Linked DNA regions of Homo sapiens: region 1 is linked to region 2. The links are contacts of gene promoters, found by promoter capture Hi-C in blood cells and fetal thymus (Javierre and others, 2016). All regions are on one chromosome and are shown on one strand. Each heading gives the region's core, a stretch centred on a gene start or on the middle of the fragment in contact. The rest is flanking DNA. Distances are from core to core; before and after follow the strand shown. Region 1 overlaps OSMR (oncostatin M receptor). Region 2 holds the start of EGFLAM-AS2 (EGFLAM antisense RNA 2).

Region 1 (4,904 bases), core at 1,626-4,125, 520 kb before region 2:
ATAAATTTGTGCTCCCCTAATAATTGGCTTTCAGGAATTTTGTATTTCATCCCCACGATATTCCCTCCTTCCATGAAGCCTTGGAGTCCTCCATGTTGCAAACACCTGGCCCCACTGTCTTGTCTCCAGCAAAGCCTGCAGGGACTGGCCTCTGCAGTGTTCTTTGAAGCAAGAGTTCTCAACTATGCCTGTATCCATGTGCATACAACTGGGTGCAGAATCAGACCAGACATAGAAAACCAAGCCCTTCTTTGGCTCCAAATCCCCCTCCAGTTATTTATCTTCCCTCTTCCCATTAAAGCCAATAGTCTTGAAAGCTTTGCTTCCACTTCCTCATTTCCCCATTACACCTGTACCTCTGCAATCTCCTTCCACAACCCACCATACCACTGAAATTGGCAGAACCTTGATCACCCTCTGAACAGGGACATTTCCCACACCTTTCCCTGAGCCCAGTAGATGGCGCCACCCACCCCTCCAGCTCAAGCCACACAAACCAGCACTCCTCTGACTGCTAAACTAGCAATCTTCACATTACAAATCCAATGTGGGAGGTAAGAGAACAAGTTCTACATGTTCTATTGAAACTGAAGTTGATGATCGATTCTCATCAACTATATGTCCTAAACATCTTCCAAATGGATGCAAGTCTCTGCTTTTGTAAAAGCTCTCTGGACAACTGTTATAATAATGTCCTTCTGCCATTCGAGACTATGCACTAATTTAAAGAAACAAGTTTATGAAAATCAGTTCCCACCTCATGTGCAGATATTCTCTGCAAAAGTAGATTTAAAGGTCAAGTTTTAGAACATATTCTTGTAACATCTGAACTCCTAACACCCATGCTGGATTTGTCGTTTCAAAATTACTAGCTTAGCACAGTCAAAGTCTGTGAAGTAGTCCAGAAATCCCACTTGAACTTTCTTCAAGGTGAATATAGCAATGCGATGATATGGAAGCTTCTTCTTACCTGTGCTAATGACTGTGCTTGTGGTATTGGGACCTACATTCTTCCACTGGAAATCACCGAGCACATCCTGGGTATGGTCACACCAGTCCACAACATAGCCTATAACATCTCCAGGTTGGGGTTTCCAAGACAGAGAGAATCCACCCTCTGTGCCTGCAATTCTTTCTTCCTCAACCTCTTCTGTATATAAACAAATAGAGCAATGCTCCAGATTTAATTAACTGTAAATTGTTTTAAGTGTGTAAGGTAGAAAGTAAATACATACATGCACTGTATCTAGTAGGTAACAGACCTCCACTTCAATAGTTACAGGTGCTTGGGTGGGGGATGTTTTCATGGGTGAGTTCTTGTCTCTTACTTCCCAGCGAATATTCACACCTGCCCTTCAGATGCCCATCATGTTGACCTTCTGAAGCCCAACCAGACTTCAGCACCTAGGACAGGGGTCAGCAAACTACCACCAGGAGGATGATTCCAGCCTCTGAGGGTTGTTTTCATATGACCCTTGAGCTAAGAATGGTTCTAAGACATTTTAAGGGTTGTAAAAATAAAAATAAACCAACAAAGAAGGCATATAATAAAATATGTAATGGAGACTATATGACCTGCAAAAATGTTTGCTATCTGCCCCTTTACCACAAAATTTTTTGATCCTTAATCTAGAATCTGGTATTGGGTACTGGATCTGCTTCAAAAAATACCTGTTGAATGAATAACTAATGCAGGCTAATTCTCCCACGGTAACATCAGTTGCTCCTGAACTAAATACTGCTTCTGAGATGTGTTACAGGTAGGAATTGAGTAGAAGACAAAAAAGAAGAAAATATTCAGGTATATAAAAAGTTGGGTTATATAAAGATATGCACACAGTTTATGACTAATACTGCCATGTCAATATATTTTATATGTTAAAGTAGGTTTCCTGATGTCTGACAATTGGAAAAAGGATAACATGGCCTCAGGGGACTACCAGTTCTACTGAGTTCCAACAGGGATATACCTTAACCTTGAGGCATGAGAATTTCTCCTCTTTCCACAGACTTACACTAAGAACTGGTTTATTGTTTGTCTGTAATTCACATTTAACTGGGCATCCTGTATTTTACCTGGCAATCCTAATTACAACTGAATACTGGTGTGAAAACCACTGATTCATTTTTATAGGGCATCAAAATATCATCCAGCTAGGGGCACCCAAAGGAATGTGTAGCCCTAGGTATAAGCTAAAAGCCCATGAGGGCTTTATAGATCCCATCCACATGGCTTCCCTGCCTTCCTCCATCAAGCAGACAAATGCCCCTCACATATTAAGGCCGACATTTTTCACTTGACTTATTGATACTTAGTAAAATTTAACTCCAAACCCAGGGTTGAAACTCTTAGAAAGCTGTTTCTTTAAATTGAAAATATGTTTTGAGAGATGGAGGTAGATCAAAGAGTAGGGGAATCTTTTTGTCAGTCATTTACACCCTAGTGTGAACTGGCTTAACCTTACTGGTTTTCTCATAGTACATGAGTGACTTTATACATGCTGGTGATGTAGAAACAAGAAACACTTAAGGATAGCTAGCTGGAGCCTCTCACCAGAAGGTCTAGGCATCTGAAGGCAGGGCACGGGGATGGAGGGTGTGGTAGGAGACCCCAAAATACATAATTGCTCTCAGCAGTGTTGCTTTGAACTGGTCTCTCCCTTCCTCAGAAGAGGCCAGTACCAGCTCCCCGAGGCTGAATGAAATGCCCCCTTTTCCTGTTCGGATCCTAATGAAGTCAGAATATAACTTCTTTCTCTAATATAGTTCTTCAGAAAGCAGAGGTTACACTAAACAACTCCTAAACCAACTTAGGTTGGTTTTTCTTCTATGGCACAATATAGTTTCTTTTCCTCATGTGATATATACTGGGTAGTTCTTTTAAAAACATAAAAATAAAACAAAACAACAACATCCTCTAATCCAACTCAACCCAAATTTAAGCTGAACTTGAATAAACACATATTATAGAACCTACAAGGGTCTGGAAATTTTAATAGCAGGAACTGAAGGGTAATATTATTGCAAGGTTCATGAATGATCCCAGGATGCCACTTGCCAACTACATTATGTATGCCCATGTATGTATCATCTCATAGCATGTAACTGTGGGGTTGACTCTTTTTATGGCTAAGAAGGAAATTAATATCACTATTGATTTGGCATGTAAGGGCATTCCACCTTGTTTGCTCTTTCATAGGCAAGAGATTAGCCAGTTATTATCTTTTATTCTACAAAGTTGGCAGAGTCTGTGGTGAAAGTTGATGCCAGTTCTGATGATCTCTGGAAATGTTCATGGACTCTTTCCAGGTGCAAAGACTGACAACACTTTTTACAAAATAGTAAATGCAATTCCTATTTCACAAGCCACAAAGATCATAAATAGTAACTCCAACTCTCAGTGGTGACTGTTTGTTAGGGTTGCAGTTACTTGAATAAATTTGAGATAATTTCCCATGTATGTTGAAGAATCCCCTGGACAGAAATGTCCTGAGCCATGGCTGAAGTCTCCTTCTCCCCACACTGAGGGGACTGTCCCACTGAAACACGTTGACACACCTGGCCCAAAAGAAAATGACTGTTTAGTGACTAGACATTTTGTCTTCCTAAGTTATTGTTTTCTCAATTTATCCATCACTACTTAATAACGTCATCAACATTTTCCTAGAGAATAAAAACAAAAGAAAATGAAAACAAACTCACTGTTTTCGGGGTCTGCAGAGATGACTATTACAGAAGCAGGAGAAGCACCCACACTGTTGTTGGCTATGACGCAGATTTGGTAGGAACACCTGTCAAGGATTAGTTTTGTGCTGTTGGCTGGTGCTGGAATGGAATGGAGCTCTGAACTGGATGGTTTGTCTAGGTTTTCTACAACTACATTATAGAACAGGATCTTTCCATTGGCATGCAGTTTTGATAATGGCTGAAAAAAATATTGATAAACATTTTTAAATGGGTTTTAATTGAAAGGAATTTGTACAACTCCTTTTTCATCTTTTCTGTCCCTCAACTCCTTTATATACGCACACACCAGAAAATTCAAACAGCTTAATAGAGAAAATAACTCTCTCAACCAACTCTGAAATCAGACATTCAAATCTAACTGAAGGTGAGTAGAGAAGAGGATCATTTGGAGATAAGAGCCTCAAGAGCATTATGTGCCCTGAGAAGAGTGCTCAGGTCAGAATCACAAGGAATAGACTCTTTAACCTGGTGGAAAAAAGAATGTGAGGGGTAGTCAAGGGCAGAAAAGCAATGAGTACAAACAGCACCACCCTGGGACCCTGCAGGAGGAGCCTGGGTACTGGCCTCATTCCACCTCCAGCCATGTTACCCCTATGCAGCCGTACAGGGATTAGCTGCTCTCCATACCCAGAGCCCTCCTCTGGAAGATCCTCAGTTTGCAGAGAAATTCTTGCCCACACAGTCCCAAGCCCACTTCTGGGGTCTGTTCCTCAGGCCTCCCCTCCCCTGGCATGTGTACCACCAGCCCTGAGAGTGGGCTTGGAGTGGCTATCTGCTTGGGGTGTGGACAGAACCCAGACATGCAGACTGGCATGCCCACACGTCTGTGCACAGAGATTCTTGCGGAGTGTGCCAAACTAAAGGTGAAAAAAAAAGTGGGGTAGGTTGAGACCAGAGCCAACTCTCCCAGGATCACCATGTTTCAGTGTGAAACTGACGCATCACAGAGTTCAGAATACAAACCTGGCCTTCCAGGTTGTCATGAAGGTGTATTAGTCAAGATAGAAGGATAAAATTTATTTTATATTACAATTTTTAAGCTTGATTTATAATTTTTAAATATAAATAGTATGACTATTTAAATATGTGTAACTTTTAACTATCATATGTGGTTGTTTACTTACATCTTTGCCCTGGGCCCTGCAAAAGTCAAGCCT
Region 2 (4,915 bases), core at 783-3,282:
TATATCAACATGGCTTAATCTCACATGACTTCATACAAAAAAAATGCAAGTTGCAAAAGAATGCATCTAGTTTGATGACATTAATATAAAAGACAACAGCAAACAAAACAATATATTACTTAGGGATACATATATATGTAATTTAAACTCTTTAAAAAAGCAGGACAAACACATAAATACCCAAGGGAAGATAGAAAAGGGATGTGAATGAGGTGTGATTCACAGGGGCCTTTGAGAGTATTCCATCATATTCTGTTTCTTAAGGTAAGTGCTGGGTACCTGTAAATATTCATATTTTTTATATGTTGTATATATACATATATATACTTTTGAAGTACAAAGTATTTCACTAAAAGGTCTTTAAAACAAAAAAGGGAGATTATAGTAAACACTCCCACAACCAAAAAAAGGGGGCCCTATAAGGTATCTTGGGGGTCATCCATTTCATCCATCTTAGCAGGACAACTAAATCTTTCAGAACTGAAAGGTGGGTGAGAAAACCTCTCAGACGTCAATACAGAGCATCATCTTTTGGGGAACATTCAGTTGGCATTTTTATTCAACTGTCATCCGCAGAATCCACTGATCCACAGCGCTCTGATTTAGGTTGCACATGGGAAACACTCCACCAGGAGGTGGCAGCCTTTTAAAGAGCGGCTCCAGGGCACCTGCATGTCCTCACAGTGGATTTGGGCCAGCACAGGTATTAACTTGCTGCCCTCTCTCAACTGAAAAAGCCAGGCACCAGCCTTTAGGGCAGTAACAACTTTGGCAACAGAAACTGGCTTTGGTAGGATGCTGCCACTCATTAGTTATTAGACATCCAGTGTTTGGATGCCTAGTGGAAAAGAAAAAGGAAAAATAACATAAAAAGCATAAAAAACATAAACTAAACTTAAAGACATTTTGCTTTCAGAATAAGCTAAGTCATGCACCATTCTCAGGAAGACAAACTCACCCTCCTACATTGTCTGTCCAGGCTGCTACAACAAAAGTACCATAAACTGATGGCTTGTAAACCACAAACATTTATTTTTCACAGTTCTGCAGGCTGTGAAGTCCCAGATCAAAGGGCTGGCAGTATCTGATGAGGGCACAGATGGTGCCTTCTCACTGCATCTTCACATGGTGGAAAGGGCAAACCAGCCCCTTTGGGCCTCTTTAATAAGGGCACTGATCCCATTCACAAGGACTCCACCCTTATGATCTAAGTACCTCCCAAAGGCCCCTCCTTGGGGGTTAGGATTTCAACATATGAATTTGAGGGAGACATAAACATTCCGACCATAGCACTCCTCCAAACAGAATAGCAATCAGATTGAAAATGGAGTGGAAGGAAATGGCAGAAAGTCATTTTTGTCAGGGGGCGTGCTGTTGACCAGAAATCAATCTCCTCCCAGACCAGACGAGAGAAGTGCAGTCAGCAGATGATGCAGATGACCCAGAGACAGGGTGGAGTGAGCTGTTCTCAGGGGTTCGGGCACTTCTTGGTGGAGGTGGGATAACAAAGGGGAGGCGGTGTTCTCATCCCTTCCACACCAATTCCCCAGTTTTATTTAAAGTAGTCCACCTGTCAACTGAAAATTCAACCTGTCGATGCCAGATTTATACCTGGATGCATGTTCTCTCAAGCCACCTGCATGCAGCGTATCTGTGTGCCAGATGTCTTCACACAAAAGGCCCTTGAGGACAGCTCCTTCCTCTTGTCTCTATCTTTGTACAGCAAGCAGTCCCCCTTATCTGTATTTTTGCTTTCTGCAATTTCATTTACCCTCGATCAACCACAGTCCAAAAATATTAAATGGGAAATTCCAGAAATAAACAATTCATAAGTTCTGAGTAGCACGATGAAATAGCACACTGCCCTGCTCCATCCTGCCTGGGATATGAATCATCCCTCTGTCTGGCATATCCGTGCTCCATATGCTCCCTGCCCCATGGTCTGCAGCCGTCTCAGTTGTCAGATTCACTGTCATGGTATCGAAGTGCTTATGTTCCAGTAACCATTATCTGACTTCATAATGGCCCCACAGTGCAAGAGCAGTGATTCTGGGATTCAGATATGCCAAAGAGAAGCCATGAAGTGCATCTTTTAAATTAAAAGGTGAAAGTTCTCAACTGAATTAAGGAAAGAAAAAAATCATATGCTGAGGTTGCTAAGATCTATGGCAAGAATGAATCTTCTATCTGTGAAACTGTGAAGAAGGAAAATGAAATTTATGCTAGTTCTGCTGCATATATAGGGTTCAGTATTATCTGCAGTTTCAGGTATCCACTGGGAATCTTGGAACACATCCCCTGCGGAGAGGGAACTACTGTATCTATCTCTCTCGGCCCCTCTCTCTCTTTCTCTTTCTCCCCTCTGTCCTTTCCCTCACTCTTCATTTCTATCTCTGCCTCTCTCACATATTCAGAATTGTTAGATTCCAGAAGAAGAAATCCATTTGGTAGTAAAAGAATTATACAGCACATACATAAAGCAAGCTGGCTTTTGTCTTCAGTAGTTTGGTCTCTCTCCTTCCAGGCTGTTCTTCCTTGCCCTGTGCACCTTATTAACACATTCTCAACAAGGTTAAGATTCTCTTCATCTTTATCCTATGATTTCCTATCTGAAAAATCACCTTCAGTGACTCTCCACTGCCTACAACATAAATTCTAGGCTTCTTGGTCAAGAATTCAAGGTTCTCAATTAAAACAGCTCCTTTTTTCCTCCTTCTTCCCCCATCACCATGATTTATTGAATTCTACTCCATCTCCTCTTCTTATCAGGTACTATTGGGTGCTTAACATGATATATTTCTAAACTTTTCAATAATCTTACAAGGTAAGTATGACTAATCCATTTTATACATAAGAAAACTGAGTTAAGAGTAGTTAAGTAATTTACCTAAAATTGAAGACTTTATAACTGGCTGAGCTAAACTCAAATCCAAGGTCTGTCTGGTGACTGCTCTCCTAATCGCCTATTGCAGAAGAAGCCACTGTGGAGGTAGAAAGATCCTAGAATTTGAGAAAATTACCATATGTTGATCATTCTTAGTGTGCCAGGAGCTTTTCATACATCGCTTAAGTTAATCCTCACAAAATACTATAAAATTGGTGTTATTACTTCCATTTTACCAAGTGGAGATATAGACACAGAGAGATTAAATAACTTGCTCAAGGCAGACAGATGGGGAATGGCAGGGCTAGATTTTATCCTTGGTCTCTCTTTTGACTACATCATGCTACTTAATCTGAATCCTAATTATGTTTTCAGGTTTTTGTTGTTTTTTAAAAAATACTCTTTAAAAGCTATATAATAGCCAAACTGGCCTGCCAGTTGTCTCCTGAATGCATCTTGTATTTTCTTACCCTAGGATTTTGGTTAATGCTTTTTCCCATTGTCATCTTTTTCCCACTCCTATCTCCTTACACACAGCCTACCTATTCTCCCAGAGGGCATGCATTCTATGGAGACAGAGCTGAATGTGTGCCATCAGAAGACCAAAATCAAGCGACATTTTAAAAAGAAAACAGACTCTTCTGGGAAAAATGGTGACTCCACAAAGTAAGAAGCCACCAAGACTTGTAGGACATTCCTTCATCTTCTCCTGGATGGGGCAACCCAGCCATGGATATATGCCTCCAATCAGCATAAATGCCCATTGCTTGATAAAGTCAACACACGTGTAAGATGGTATGTAGATCTTCTGGGCTCCTGGCCTTAGACTCTTGCCCTTGTGTTTACCAACTCGATTGTAAATCCTTTGAGGGCAGAAACCATATTTTAGATTTCTTCATATCCTTTCCCTTCCTCCATGTCACTAACACTTCATGTACTCAACAAAGGTCAACACCTTTGAGAGGAGTGACAGGAGACACTCCCACAGTGCTGAACTATGTCCTGCCCTTGCTCAACATGGTGGGACTCTGCCTCCCAATCCAAAGACCCCGAAAACTGCCACCAATCCTGTCCTTTTCCCCCAAATGAAGCTAGAAGTAAGAATGGAAAGAGATCTAAACACCATCCAGCCCAATCTTGTCATTTCACAAGCATGGAAACCGAGGCCACAGAAAAGAATTGACTTAAAATCAAGATCATGCATCCCATTAGAGGAAGCTCTAACTCTAGAATCAGATAATATGACTCTAGTTCAATGTCCATAAGACTCTATTGCACAATTTTTTTTGGCATCAAGTATCTAAAGATAGTTCAGTCAGAAGAACCTGGAACCTAGAGAAGCCAAGGGTTAGAGTGTAGGTGGCTGAGATCTCTTACTGCCCCTCCATCTGCTCTAGGAAATTCTGTTTCTTGAAGGGAACTCCTCAGAGAAAAGGACCACAAGCAAATTGCTGCTGCTACAAAATGATACCATAATGAGAATGGAAATAATCCTGGATTCTCTGCTCATTTCGACAAGTAAAATAAGGCACATATTTTTCAATGGATAATGTTCTTTGGTCTCTGTAAAAATTGTTTCCGTTTTGACACTTTTTGTAACCTATTTCTTTGAAACCTGAGTTCACTCAGTTTGGGGAAACATAGGGTACGGAAGAAGAAGGGGAAAAGGAATATGGAATCACAAGGATTTAGAGTCAAAGTAATTTTAACTTTCATAGAGAGACCGCAGGGATCAGCTAACACAACAAGCCCATTTTACAGAGGAGTCAACTAAGGCTCAAAGAATCCATGAGACTCGCCCAGAGAAGCAGCTCATTAGTGGCAGAGTTGATCTAGAATTCTGGGCTCCTGCTGCTGCAACCCAGTCCTCTTTGCAGCATCCCAAACTCCCTCTCTCATAATAATCCAGGATAATAGTCATTTCCCATTTTTAATAAGAAGGAAATGAGCACAGAGAGAACCAGTCACAGCATGATGGAAGAAACCTGGAACTAAAGCCTCACTACTTCTCTTTCCTGACTGCCCCGCCAC

What was found. Contacts are between HindIII fragments. The CHiCAGO score rates a contact against its expected background, and 5 or more counts as called.
Region 1: a contact is called between a fragment that was not itself captured here and the fragment with the promoter of EGFLAM-AS2 in region 2, in 4 of 17 cell types (M1 macrophages, M0 macrophages, M2 macrophages and 1 more). The highest score is 7.5, in M1 macrophages.

The regions. Positions count from the first base shown.
Region 1 is chr5:38,917,861-38,922,764 of GRCh38, reverse strand. It overlaps OSMR (oncostatin M receptor), which reads right to left. Exons shown (of 18, transcript NM_003999.3): 11 at 3,703-3,925; 12 at 971-1,150. Among named protein-coding and RNA genes, the nearest start is that of OSMR, 74 kb to the right of the region's middle. The HindIII fragment of the contact is 3,828 bases long and covers 962-4,789 here.
Region 2 is chr5:38,400,588-38,405,502 of GRCh38, reverse strand. It overlaps EGFLAM-AS2 (EGFLAM antisense RNA 2), which reads left to right and starts at 2,032. Exons shown (of 3, transcript NR_102750.1): 1 at 2,032-2,104; 2 at 3,422-3,679. All of the region lies in intron 6 of EGFLAM (EGF like, fibronectin type III and laminin G domains), which reads right to left. The HindIII fragment of the contact is 8,755 bases long and covers 1-4,915 here.